Linked DNA regions of Homo sapiens: all the other regions are linked to region 4. Evidence: promoter capture Hi-C in 16 types of primary human blood cells and fetal thymus (Javierre and others, 2016). All regions are on one chromosome and are shown on one strand. Each heading gives the region's core, a stretch centred on a gene start or on the middle of the fragment in contact. The rest is flanking DNA. Distances are from core to core; before and after follow the strand shown.

Region 1 (3,483 bases), core at 475-2,974, 750 kb after region 4:
CCTTGTTTTCAAAATTGGGAGTGTGAAAGGAAGGGGAATATGTGGAAGCCCGTGGTTTTAGCCCCAGCTATGTCCCGGTCTGATAAACAACAAGAGAACCAGAAAGAGCAAGATAGGTCTACGCAGGTCACCGGGACAGATTTAAAAAACGTGGGTGGGGACAGAGTGACTGACACTGGAGATGTGATTGGTTTGGGAAAAGATGTCATGGGAGTTGAAGGTTATCCATGATCCCAGTTTTAGGGAGCAGGAAGAGGCAGGGGCAGGGGCATTAGGCAGGAACTGATCTTAACGTCCACAGGGACTCATAATCATCTCTCTGAACCAGGGGCGGTTGCCAAATGCAAACATGTGCCTGTTCTTTGTGTATACTTAAAGAGTAGTTCTATATCTAAATGCTGCTCCAAACTATAAGGTTTAATCCTATGAAATTACCAATATTTAACAGCTTCTGACTTACCAAAAAAAAAAAAAAAATGGCAACTTCACAAGATGCAACCTAATGCAATATGAACTGTAAAATAAATGTAATACAGAATATGGACTGAAAATAAATGCAAAATTCTTTATACTTAGCTCTACTCTTTTGTCAAATAAATTTTAAATGAGGAATCAACTTTTAGGTTTTCTATATTTAGATTTAAGTACTTTGAGGATTTTTCCATCACAGATTTTCCATCCTTGAAACCACTTGCACAGAACTGACTCTGATCTGCTGCCCCCTGCTGTCAGCTAGGGAAGCAACCTGATTTTTAACTGTTTGGGAGGCTAGAGCTAATCCCTTAAAAAAAAATCAGGGTTTCTAAACATGTCACTTAGGATTATCCCTTGGTTTAGGTAATCCTTGCCGGTACTTTTCTTCATTAGAAGATTATTGAGACTTGATGGAATAAGTCATTATCATGTGAGCCCTACTGGCCTGACATGTTTCCCTTTTTGGATATAACTTAACAGAGTTAGAAAAGAAGAATAGAATTACAGCTGGATTCTCAGTAACTCACACTAATGACAGGGACAGCTGTTTACAAATTTCAGTCATCAGACTAAGGAGAATGTATGGAAAGGTAATGGCATGGAGGGGCTTCAAGCCTGGATCTTGATGATTTTGCTGGAATGGGTTAGGATTTAATTGCCTTCAGCAAAAACTGGGGCTTGTGCTCCAGTAGTTTTGTTCTTTATGTGATAAAATGGAATGAGTATAAGCCAACTCTAGGTCTTTGCCCTCAATTTTTCTCTGTCACATCAAAAGGGACTGCTGGGTTTTTATAAGAATCACTGAGTTTTAGATCTAACACAGAACTGTGCTTCCGGTGGTAGGTGATGGTTGCTTGCAGGAAATGATGGAAAATGCTTAAAATTCAATCCAGAATCAGTTGGAGAGTTGAGATTGTAACTCAGATACACAACTGTTTAAATGCTGTCCACTGCCTACCCACCATTTGTTGTAAATGGTTTTTAAAGGCCCCTCGACACATTGTTTGAAGCTTAAGTGGGGAAGGAAGGGTGTGTGTCCCCGAGAGGCCCTAGCACTCTCTCAGTCCCCACCCTCAGCCATTTGTAAATGGCTCTTTGTCTCCTGGGACCTCCTCCAAAAGGGATGGGTACAGGTGTTCCCAGTTGGATCACAGGCTGAAAATGTTGAGAATGGCTATTCTGAATTATGGTTGTAATTTAATCTGGCAAATATTATTGAGCTTCTCTCTGTAATAAAGTAGGCTCTGGTGATGCAGGAGCATATAAGCCCACCCAAAGGCTCACAATCTGGCTTCCTGTAAGCGTGCAAACTGGTTTTACTCAACTATTACTGAAGTAAAGAGAATTGTTGGCAAATGTTAAACAATTATATGAAAGGAACAGGCAGATAGTCCCTGGACCCACTGATCAACCTTAACATAAATAAAAGTGGGGAAACAAGACCTGTGCATTCAAATGCATTGCCTAAATTGGGATGTGCTGGAAGCTTAACATACAGAGTGACTTGGAAAGATTTAGTCCCAGAAATATATACTTCATTAATAATATTTTATGATCACATATTGAAATGATAATTTTTGATATATTAGGTTAAATAATTACAATAGAAAAGAAAATTATTGGCTAAAACTTCCCCCATTTAAACAGCAAACTAGTGTGCTAGTGACATGAGCATTTGCTACAGTTTACACTATTTCTCATAAGATGAAAACCAAAATCTTTAACTTAGCTTGCAAGGTTACACAAACGATGGTGAAGGGCAGGTTTTGTTTGGTTTTGTTTTTTTAATGTCCAATTCCTTGCAGATTGATGATTTTATAAAGAAAATAACAATTAATTTTTCAAATAAATGAAATGGAAAAAGTCACACAAAATGCAAGCCCAATTTTATTATTAGTTTAACAAACATAAAATTACTTTGTGAAATGGCTACAAAAATTTCTACAATGTAGACTTCCAATTTTTATACTTGCCTCATCCCCAGTAAGGTAGCAAACAGTTCACAGTCCACATACCACTCTCTGAGTGACACAGGCTAGCCCCTGCCTACCTCTCCCTATCACTCTCTGCAGGCAGCCACACTGGCCTGTTTCCCTTCTTAGAACATGCCTCTCTCCTTACACTGGCAGGACTCCCAACCCCTCTGTGCCTAGTTAATCGTAACTATCTTTCAGATCTCAAGCCACAGCCTCTGTCTTTACCCTGAGAGCCTACACTTAGTCAGGGTCCCTGTCTGTGCTCCATTGTACCATGTGCCTCTCTTTATCACACGTTTCACCATTTGGAAGAACCCGAGTCCTTCACTAAGCTGTAAGCTTACAGTGATGGCATCAGTCTTGTTCACCAGCGATCCCAAATGCCTAGGACATACTACATGCTCAGTAAATACTTGTTTAATTAATAGATAATTAAAAATAATTTGAGCTCACAAAATTCAAACTTTCATTTTTTAACTGAGAAAACTAACTTCCAGAGAGTTTAAACAATTTGCTTAAAAATTCCAAGGACATATATATTCAAAACTGAGACCCGGATCTGCCTAAGTCCACACCATTACTTTTTTCCTAAACACACTAAAATGGGGCATTACCCAGAAATCATAAAAATTGTTTTGGATGGTGACCATTTCTATGAGTTGAAGCCATTTCCAAAATTACCCAGAAAGTTTACACGGTTAAACAATATTTTATTTTGTATCTACTCATTCATTTCACAGATATTTGTTGAACACCTACCATGTGACAGGCATTACTCTAAATGTTGTGAATGTGGCAGTTGTGGAGAAAGCCCAGGGTTTCCTGAACAGCCTCATTCTAGTTGGAGAGACAACAGCAAACATAGAAAAATACCCATAATTGGCAATAAGTCCTTTGCACAGAATTAGCACGAGATAAAGGGATGGAGGGACTTTGAACAGAATTAGCACAAGATAAAGCAAAGGAGGGCCTATTTTGGATGATGTAATCAGGAGGCCCATCTGAGGAGGTGATGCTTGAATTGACACCTGAA
Region 2 (3,180 bases), core at 217-2,716, 880 kb after region 4:
AAAATCAAATAACATATTAGCTTTATCATAAAAATAATTTTGACCTCATTGATTCCCAAGCTTCTCCAGACCACACTTTGAGGACTATTGATCTTACTCAGTGATAAGAGCTTTCATGTAGATTGATTCAACTGCACCTCACAAAGTTTTTAAATGCCTTTGATTATCCCTATTACACACTCAGGGAAAGTAATCCTTGGAAAAAAAAAAAACAAGAAATTTGCCTACTGCTAAATAACTGGGATTCAAGACAGGTGCCCAGTAATAAACTCAATCTACTCTAGCTGTGTTCCATACATCTAGCACTAATGGGAAAAATTAGACCACTTTGTTTTTAAGTAGGGCTATATTCTTCCTCTTAAACCTAGTTATAGAAATCAAATCTGCAAATGCATTAAGTGTTCAAATCATTCCTAGAGCAGAGGAAAATCGAATGCATTAATGAATTTGCATGGTTTTGCTATTATTCTTTCTCTCCCACGTGACATTCCTAAAATAAAATTTTCTTTTCTTTTCTTTTCTTTTTTTTTTTTTTTTTTTTTTGAGACAGTCTCACTCTGTTGCCCAGGCTGGAGGGCAGTGGTGTGATCTCGGCTCACTGCAACCTCTGTCTCCTGGGTTCAAGCCATTCTCCTGCCTCAGCCTCCCTAGTAGCTGGGATTACAGGGGCATGCCACTACACCTGGCTATTTTTTGTATTTTTAGTAGAGACAGGGTTTCACCATGTTGGCCAGGCTGATCTTGAACTCCTGACCTCAAGTGATCCACCTGCCTTGGCCTCCCAAAGTGCTGGGATTACAGGCTTGAGCCACCATGTCCAGCCTGCTTTTCTTTTTTCTTTCTGACCTCACTGTATTTAACAATGATTGCTCACTAAAGAATATAAGAGAATTAGAAAGTTGTTCATTTGATCATCCAGAACACGTAAGAGGTGATTTAAGATTTTAGATTAAAATCACTTAATCCAATTTTGTTTTGTTTTGTTTACATTTGCTAACTCTGAAATGTGACTCATTTTAAAATATGTTTTTCTACCTTCTTAGAGAAGCGGTCAGCAATTTTCTCACTGCCCTCAGTTTGCAAAGAAAGAGCAGGAATCAGCAGCAAGTTCCTCATCCTGCAATCTCTGGGAATATCTGGGCTGCCCTCAGAATTGCGCTCTCTCTGATGGACCAACCAGAACTCTTCCAGGCGGCTAATCTTGGTGACCTGGATGTCCTCTTAAGAGCTTTCAACTTGGATCCTTGAAGAAAGAATAATACCAGTACTAATAATCCCTGATCTGTGTGATTGTACTGAAAAATCAAAAACTATTTTATTATGAATTTCAAAAGGATAAATCAAATATTCAAAAGGCCATGGTCATATAGCCCAAGGAAATTAATTCCTGTGGACAATGCCCAGTCTCTGTTCAGATCCAAAAGCACAAAATGTTGTATATAGAGTCAAAGTCAGGCTCAAAAGAAGAATTAAGAGACTCAAGACAAACCAAGATAAAGTAACTGTGTGTTGAATACTCTTTCCACAAGTTGCAAGCATATTGCAACACATGTTCTTTGGGTTTTTTGTCTCCCCTTGCAGCTGATGACACATCTGAGGAACTTGTTCATGGGAAACATGGAAAAAGCACTGCCTCAGATTGGGAAATTCTGACTGTTTCTGAACTGTCTTCTTTTGCAAGACTGAACATAGTTTGGGCCATTGGTGCATGCACATATATTAACTTGTGACTAAAGACAGACATTGCTTAAACCTGTTCCAATTTTAACTTTTACTGTAGCCCTTTGATTCCAGAGAGGGAGCTTTGCTGGCAAAAGCAGTTTTTGCACTAGAAATTTTTGCTGTTCCCAATCTAAACTTTTCTGGTATTGTATATATGCACTTTAATATCTTATTTATGCCTTGCTGGAGTTTTGTTTTGTTGCTCCAATTTTTAACTTGGGGGTGAAAGATTTAAGAACTCAGCCTCACTAGATCAACGGACCAAATAAACAATTCCTGAAGACAGTTTTTCATAGTGTAGGATTTTGAAGAAGTGTTTTTCTTAAAGCAGATACGATGACATAAGGCGTAAATATGGCAAACAGATCTTTTCATTCACGTGCTTTCTGGGTCTGTATGAACATAAGTAAGACACAAGGTACTGTCTCTTCATGCATTCTCTGCAGGAAGAAAGTTTGATGGTATCGTGATTTCTATTGAGTTCAAATTAACTTGCTTAAGTGTCATACTTTACTGGCTTTGCCCTGCACACCAATATTCCTTTTAAACCATAAATATTTTAAATAATATTTCTTAAGAGTGATAAATAACATTTTTTCCTAAAAATTATGTTTTCTTAGTTTCATAATAATCTGCACTGTTCATCCCCTTGCATTCTAAGTGATAGAAGAGCAACACTTTCAAACCAAATCTCACTGAATGCCAGTGATTTCATATGAAAGATGCATGCCTCTTTGGCTCTTTGAACATTTAGCAAGTATTGGGAATTTTCTATTAGCAGTGGTGTTTTAATTGGTTGAATTCCACTTAGTTCTCCACAGTGTTTTGTATGTGTTTGGGGCTTGGTGATTATTTTGAAAGATACATTTTTTAAAGAATTAGGAACATTTTTTGCAAAATGCTAATCAGAATATAATTTTCCCAATGTCAGGTATAGAAGTTATCCCATTCTTCTTTACCTGGTCTCCTTCCTTCGTCTAGAACCTTCCCCACAGTAGCTAATCCTAACAACTTTTTATTTATGTTCTTTGATAATAATAGCTCATCCCGCTCATGATTATAGCTACCCACAAAAAATAAAACAACAACAACAAAAAAGACTCCACAGAATTGGGATCAAAACAGTCTAATTGGCTGGGGAATAAGCTTCTACTGAGGAGTAAATGTGCACACGTGCTTATCAATTGAATGCGAGGTACAGGAATAAAATCCTCTCCTCTGTTACATCTGAAGTCCTTGGGTTGTGAGAGGGCCTCAAGTTAACAGAAACCACAAGTCCTTGAGGCTTACATATGTTATAACCTATTCTAGTTTATAAAGACAAAAAGCTGAGGCCACTGTGAGGAGTGCCAGGTTTTGATAGTCATTGTCAAAGTTGACTTGGGCCAGGTGGTAGCTCCAGCTGGTCAGCAGAAGGCAGAGGCATTCAGGCACTCATCATGGGTAGCAGCGACCACC
Region 3 (3,463 bases), core at 203-2,702, 910 kb after region 4:
GACATCAAAACACTCCCTAAAATAACTACCAAGACCCCAGAGGCACAGCAGTCCTCTGGTGAGAAAAACTGGGTTCTCATCCAATGCTCTTTACTTGATTAATTTGTGTCATTGCCTATCTCTAACTCCCTCTGTACAAAGCGGGGGAAATAAAATTGCCAACTTACTAACATTTGCCTCATAAGCACCCAATATCTGGGTATTTATCTGGGATATGCTTTTCCCCCACAAGGTATTCATGAGGGATCCACTCCCATGACCCAAACACCTCCCACCAGGTCCCACCTCCAACACTGCAGTTTGCATATCAACATGAGATTTGGAGGGGACAAACATCCAAAGTATATCAGGCGCAATATACAACAAGTTCAATCTCTCCAACAGCTTGATTTCCCCTCATGCCCTCTCTGAGAAAAAACAGTGTGGGAGGGAGGAGTATTTGGAGCTTTCAGAAATTTCTGAATTCTCAAAAAGAGAAGACAGACCTAGGTAAATCAATAACATCGGAAGGCAGCTGATAGCAACAGAATTGTAAAGGGTCTACGAATTGCTTCCCCCAACCCTAGCCAGCTCCAAATTACCAGTCTCTCGGTTACAATGCCGAATGCTCCGAAAGGCAAACACTTCCTTCCAAGTCTAATAGTTCTCCATCATTTATCCTTCAGTGTAAATCAGTTTACTCAAGAGTGGCTGCCTCTTAACTTTCAACAGCACCGCTGAAAAAATTAGGAACTGCAACAAGTGCTAAGTGGGAGGAGAATTAGCACCAGTGGCATGAAGTGTCTATGTGACTTTCCAGTCGACCACTGGGGCTTAGCTTCCCTGGGGAGCTGTACCTTTTGCCCCCTAGATCCTCTTCTGGGTGGCATTCCTCAGGGAGCTCAGCACCTCAGGAACCCCAGCGTTATGCAAATGAACGCCTCTCTGCTCCCTGCCTGGAAAATCTCAGCAGCATCGGAGACATCTAAACCATTACACCAAAGTGGCTGAAGGAGCCAGAGCAGGCTCTGAGTAATCACAGCCTAATCACATGTTAATTTCATTGGCAATCAGTGAGTTCTTTTCTTAAGAAAAATTAAATGCTCATTAAGTGAAACATGAAAACAGAAATGATTTTGCACATAGCAGAAGCCCCGATAGGTCAGAGTGACGGCCTGATTTCTAGCTTTAAAGTTTTAAAAAACTCAACAGAAAGTTAGGTGCTAGCCCTAAAATGTGCAGAACATGGTAGAAAATAGACTCTCGTCTCCATTCCAATACAAAATGTGAAATAAGATGACTCAATCGGGGATAAAGGAAAAACTGCACAGCCTTCAAAATCAAACAGGCCTGAATTCTAACCTGGTTCTACCACTAGCAAACCACTTAGCTTTGTCACCACTTCCTCATCAGAATACCTCCCTATAAGCAGTGAAGGAAAAGTGGTCAAGGAAGTGCCTGGCACAGAGGAGGCATTCAGGAAATGACAGCCACTATTTCATCAAGTGTTAATAGCACTAACCTTTTTAAACAAATTAGACGCCATTTAGATAATCGTTTCATGCAGTAGCATTACTTCCACATTCAGAAAAATGGAAACAGTGATTTTTAATTAACATATTCCTAAAAGGAAAAATTTGATACCTGTACTTCTTTAATCCCTACCCTTGTAATAATAGCTTTTTTCCACTTCATAACACCTACCTTATTATTTCAGTGTTAACCTGGTGTGACAAAGTCCCAGTAGCCACGACCCTCCTTCTTAAAGCAACAGTAACCTAACACTGCTTTTAAGGTGGTAATTCTCAAGTTTAAGCTGCATCAGAATCACCTGGATGTCCTGTTAAAACACAGATTACTGGGCCTCACCCAGAGTTCCTAATTCAGCAGGTCTGAAGTGGGGCAACATCAGTCCTAACAAGTTCTCAGGTGATTCTATTAGTCCGAACCACACTTGAACCAGTGCTTGAAGGAGATCAACCTGTCCCTTCTCAGCTCAGGTGAGAGGATGGAAGATGTCTCCACCCTCAGGTTCTAGGAGTGAGGCCCATAATGCAGGCCTGAATCAACCTGCCTCAGTGACTTGGAGTAGGACAGGGCACATAACGGAGTCTCACAGAGTCTCAGGCTCTCAGGACCTTTGCTGAGAACTCTGGGACAAGACTTAGCTAGATTTTAACCTGGAAAGATATAGTTGTGGGAGGCGCTGCAGCCATCTTGTGCCATTAGGGAGAGCCTGTCTGGGACTGGAACCAACCTAGAGGAAGCAGAGCCAAGGGGCCCATCCAGCTAAAAGGATTTGAGTCCTGAATCACGGCAGGCCTGCAGCCCAGTGCCCCCAGGACTTGCCAGCTTTCATGAGAAAATATTTCCCTTTTTGCTTAGACAGATTTGTCTTGGACTTCTTGCCACTTAAAACCCTGAAAACTGAAGTTGTTTTTATTTTGTTTGTTTTGGTTCCTCAAACACCAATTACCCCTACTCTTTAATTGTATTCAATATTCTCAGCTGGGTGCAGTGGCTCACACCTGTAATCCCAGCACTTTGGGAGGCCAAGGCAGGCAGATCACAAGGTCGGGAAATGGAGACCATCCTGGCCAACATGGTGAAACCCCATCTGTACTAAAAACAGTATAAAAATTAGCTGGGTGTGGTGGCGCGTGCCTGTAATCCTAGCTACTCCAGAGGCTGAGGCAGGAGAATAGCTTGAACCAGGGAGTTGGAGGTTGCAGTTTGCTGAGATGGCGCCACTGCACTCCAGCCTGGCGACAGAGCGAGACTCCATCTCAAAAAAAAAAAAAATTCTCAAGTCATATACCTCAGTCAATTCACCAACCAGAAAAAGTAAAAAGAAATGACTTGGGAATTTAAACAACCTAGCTAAACAGAACACACATCTTCCCAGGTTAACCTATAAATTTAATGTAATGCCAGTCAAACCCCTAGAGAATGGCCAATTACAAAATCGGTACCTTTATATAATTTAGCAGCAATGTTTAATATACAATGGGGAAAATTTGTATTCATAAGTAACAGTGAAAATGTAATTTCGAGATATAACTAAACTAGAAATGCCTAGCATATTTATGAAGAAAACCATACAGCTTTGCAAGAGTTAGAAAAGGGGCGAATAAATCAAAGGAGAAGCATATGTTTCTGGCTAGAAAAACTCAATATTGTAAAGTGATCAGGTATTCCCAAACTAATCTACAGTACATGAAACTCTCATAAAAATCAATAAAAGAAAGCTGACAACCTCAATAAAAGTGGGAAACTGGCCAAAGGAAATAAGCTGTTAACACGAGAAGAAAAATAACTAGGCAATAAAGATACAAAAAATATAAAAAGCACTCAACCAAAAGCACTGCTGGGGAACGTTGGGGAAACCGGAAAGTCACCAGTGTGACCAGGATGTGGCCCCCTGCTGTGTTTGTGGAGAGTCACGTGATGGTAATCTGCATTAAAACCTTAAAAATATGTATTT
Region 4 (3,466 bases), core at 760-3,259:
CAACTCATTGGCACAGGTCGAGGCAGCTCAGTATTCATATTAAAAACTGGGATGGTAAATTAGGTAATTTTAAGATACATGGGTGATAATACCAATTATTTTATTTTTACTTTTTGCTGTATTAAAAGGTAATTAAATGTGATTGGTTTCCTTAGCTCTTGTGAAGGTATTTTCGTAGGTGAATAGTTTTGTTCCAATTGATGTTTCTGTGAGGGCTGATTGCTGGAAGTCTTGTTCTGCCATTTTCCTCCCCACCTTTGACCCAACACCAATAATTTTAGAAAGCAGCATTGCCACAACATATCCCAAGTATAAATAACTATGTACCATCTTAACATAAGCTGAATACTAACATTTTCATTAGTTGGAATGACTAAACTATTATAAAATAAGTAATGATCATTTATAAAGGATTAAATGTCATTATATCTAAAATTCCACTATTACATGCAGGTCAAATTTCTTCTACAAGTTGAGCCTTTCTCCCCAGCCTTTAATCATTGTAGAAAGGGGGAATAAAATGCTTTGCTAATTCTAGTCTTTAAAGGCACTAAGTCCACAAGATTAAGTTTATGGAAAACAATGTAGGCACAAAGAGACAAAGCTCCTACAGGAGGATTTCAGAACTATAGTGACAAACAAATCGACTGTAAAAAGACATTTTTAGGACAGTCGAAATATGAATCTGAAATGGTTATTAGATGATATTGAAGAATAGTTGATTTTTATAGGTGTGATAATGATATTGTGCTTATGTTAGATAACATTAACCACTCTTCTACCAATACATGCTCATGTATTTAGGGCTGTAATGTCATGATGTCTATGATTATTTTTTCACTTGAGCAAAAGATACAGATGATGCTAACATGGCAAAATATGAATGCTAAATCAAGGTGATGCATATATAGCAGTTATTTATACTCTGCTTTCTATTCCCATATACATTTAAAATATTTATAATAAAAGTTTAACAATGTCTAGGTAAAATAAAATTCGAAAGAGCAAAAAAAATTACAGATGATTATTGGATACGTAAAATTAATTCATGCACAGCATCCCTTCTTTAATCACTTTGCCTCAAGGAGCCTCGGTTTAACTTACCGAGAAAATGAAAGGATTAGATTAGTTGATTGTTTTGTCCTTTCCAGTTCTGAGATACTATACAAGAGAGACTATAACTCAAATGCCTACCCGTGCCAAGCAGGTAATTCAAATTAGTGAACTGGTAAAGTGCTTTGTTGGTCTAAAGGGGGCGCCTCTCCAGCGGAACATTGCCTTTTGATAATGGGGATTGTGTCACCTACCCTTTTTCAAGCAGAGGAAATACAGACGTTTATGCGAAATTCCACACTTTAAATGTTAGCAAACAAAAATGCAAAGAAAAATGCAAGTATGGGAGTGGTGCCGGAGGGACCACCACACCGCGCCACAAGTGTGCGGCCTCCGCGCGGTCCGCGTCTGTGATCGACTGGGACATCCGCGATGGGGCCGGTGAGTGCGGTGAGGAAGGCTGGCCGACTGAAACAGGCGACGATCAGAACATCCCAGTGATGCCAGAGAGAGAGTTGTTTCCAAACACCAGTTCACTTCGGTCTACTTTCACCTACTGTAGTAGCTGAAATCTACACAACACAGCAAACACACCTTGAAAAGAAACTTAGTTTATAATCCCTGTTGGCTCCCGTCTTCCCCCAGGCAATCGGAGGATCGTGTGGTTTACTTCCAGCCAGCTGCCCCGTGGTCCTCCAGCCAGCTCCGGGGGCCACAGTTTTCACACGCTCCGGGAGCGATCCGAGAGCCGCCTTTTCGTGGAAAGTTACGCTGCCGCCTGGCAACCCCCGGGAACGTCGGGAGGGGCAAGTTGCTGCTCATCCCTCAGTGCTCAAGGTAAGAAAAAGATTCTTCGGCCTGCAGGCAGGGAGTTCTCAACCGGAAGTTTCGCCTTCGGGCTGGAGCGTTTCCTGTTTGGTAACTAAGGACGCGGGAAGGTTGCTAGGGCTCCCCCGGCAATTGCCGCGGCACTGTGCAGGTGCCTGGGCTTGACGCGGGTGCTGCTCACCCGCTGTACAAGAAGGCGGATCTTTGCTCTGTATCTTCTCTATCCGTTTGCAGTCATGAGTAGCGAATTCCTGGCTGAGCTGCACTGGGAGGATGGGTTCGCCATCCCGGTGGCGAACGAGGAGAACAAGCTACTGGAAGATCAGGTGAGATCAATTGAAGCAGGCGGGAGGAAGCAGAGAGAGCCTGTTGGGGGCGTTTTCTGGTTGGCAGTACTACCCCAGCCCTTTTATTTCTCTCCTTTCCTAATCCTGTGCTTCCTCTAACACTCCCCCGCACCATCGCCCTCCTCCCTTACCCTCTCTGCCTATTTCAGTAATTGTTAAGCATTTAAAAATGCTATTAAAACCATAATTGACATTTAGGGTTATAAAGCTCGAATTATTACTCCCTTCCTCATGCCCACTCCTCTTACTTATTTCGTTCCTCCTGGCGAGAGAGGAAAGGCTGGTTCCGGCGCCCGCTTTTTCCTTGCTCAAAAATTAAAGAGCTACTTGGAAAAGAATTTCTGAGGTTTGCATAGCAACGGTTATTTGCGCACGTTTATAAATTAAACTCCAGAAGGTTCATATTTCTTTGTGAGTTTTTGTCTGTAATGTTTAAAGCTGAAAGTGACTTGAGATGTTTTCAAGAGGAACAGCCCGGTAAGAATGAAATGTGCGGTTTACAGTTTTTCAAAGAGAAGATTGAGTTGTCACAGATTAACATAAGAAATTTTACGTTGCAAGGACGAACTTACACTAACTACAATTCATAGCAGTTGTTAAAAAAAAAAAAATTGCAGGCCGGGCGCAGTGGCTCACACCTGTAATCCCAGCACTTTGGGAGGCTGAGGCGGAGGAACCCTAAAAGCCAGGAGTAAAACAAGCTTGAACAACAAAGCGAGACCCCCCACAAACCCCTCCCACCGCGTCTCTACGAAAAAATAAAAAAATAAAAAATTGCAACCGGGTCAGCAAATTTTGAAAAACTTTGGTGGTGATATGTTGTGTAGAAGAAGGTCCAAGAATAACAGATGATGCTTACACAACTTTGTAAAACGGAACAGAAAGTTTTCTCAGCTCTAAAAAAGGAAAATGAAAATCCTGTTACTCTACCTTTTGAAAACAATGGAAATGCTTTTTAACACGTTCTGACCTATTTACTCATGTGTAATTTAGAAGACTGCAATTTTTCCCCAAAGGAGGGCAATATTAGGAAATGTAAGGGATCTAGCACTGAGTACCGAGGAATTAATACTAAGTATCCAGCCCTGGGTTCAGATCCTACTTACCAACCCTAATCCTGCTTCTTTTTTTGTAAAGCGGAGATGGAGATGAACAAACTAATTACTTCGCGGGCTCTAGGGACATAATATGGGTTAAGGTTCCATCCAAATTTTAGGTTTTAGTATTCTTGCCATAAT

Evidence for each region. The method cuts DNA at HindIII sites, captures the fragments that hold promoters and counts their contacts. A CHiCAGO score of 5 or more calls a contact.
Region 1: a contact is called between a fragment that was not itself captured here and the fragment with the promoter of CCDC39 in region 4, in 1 of 17 cell types (endothelial precursors). The highest score is 5.2, in endothelial precursors.
Region 2: a fragment that was not itself captured here is called in contact with the fragment with the promoter of CCDC39 in region 4 in 1 of 17 cell types (endothelial precursors); the score reaches 5.3 in endothelial precursors.
Region 3: a fragment that was not itself captured here is called in contact with the fragment with the promoter of CCDC39 in region 4 in 2 of 17 cell types (M2 macrophages and M1 macrophages); the score reaches 5.8 in M2 macrophages.

Annotation. Positions count from the first base shown.
Region 1 is chr3:179,926,484-179,929,966 of GRCh38, reverse strand. All of the region lies in intron 2 of PEX5L (peroxisomal biogenesis factor 5 like), which reads left to right. Among named protein-coding and RNA genes, the nearest start is that of PEX5L-AS2, 30 kb to the right of the region's middle. The HindIII fragment of the contact is 476 bases long and covers 1,487-1,962 here.
Region 2 is chr3:179,799,896-179,803,075 of GRCh38, reverse strand. It overlaps PEX5L (peroxisomal biogenesis factor 5 like), which reads left to right. Exons shown (of 15, transcript NM_016559.3): 15 at 1,044-3,180. The coding sequence ends at 1,248. Among named protein-coding and RNA genes, the nearest start is that of PEX5L-AS2, 97 kb to the left of the region's middle. The HindIII fragment of the contact is 2,808 bases long and covers 63-2,870 here.
Region 3 is chr3:179,769,928-179,773,390 of GRCh38, reverse strand. The region is part of intron 19 of USP13 (ubiquitin specific peptidase 13); the gene reads right to left. Among named protein-coding and RNA genes, the nearest start is that of USP13, 120 kb to the right of the region's middle. The HindIII fragment of the contact is 4,298 bases long and covers 1-3,463 here.
Region 4 is chr3:180,678,032-180,681,497 of GRCh38, reverse strand. It overlaps CCDC39 (coiled-coil domain 39 molecular ruler complex subunit), which reads left to right and starts at 2,009. Exons shown (of 20, transcript NM_181426.2): 1 at 2,009-2,207. The coding sequence starts at 2,118. CCDC39-AS1 (CCDC39 antisense RNA 1) reads right to left here and starts at 1,417. Exons shown (of 2, transcript NR_046725.1): 1 at 1,308-1,417. RefSeq lists enhancers at 1,508-1,557, 1,638-1,737. The HindIII fragment of the contact is 3,343 bases long and covers 1-2,931 here.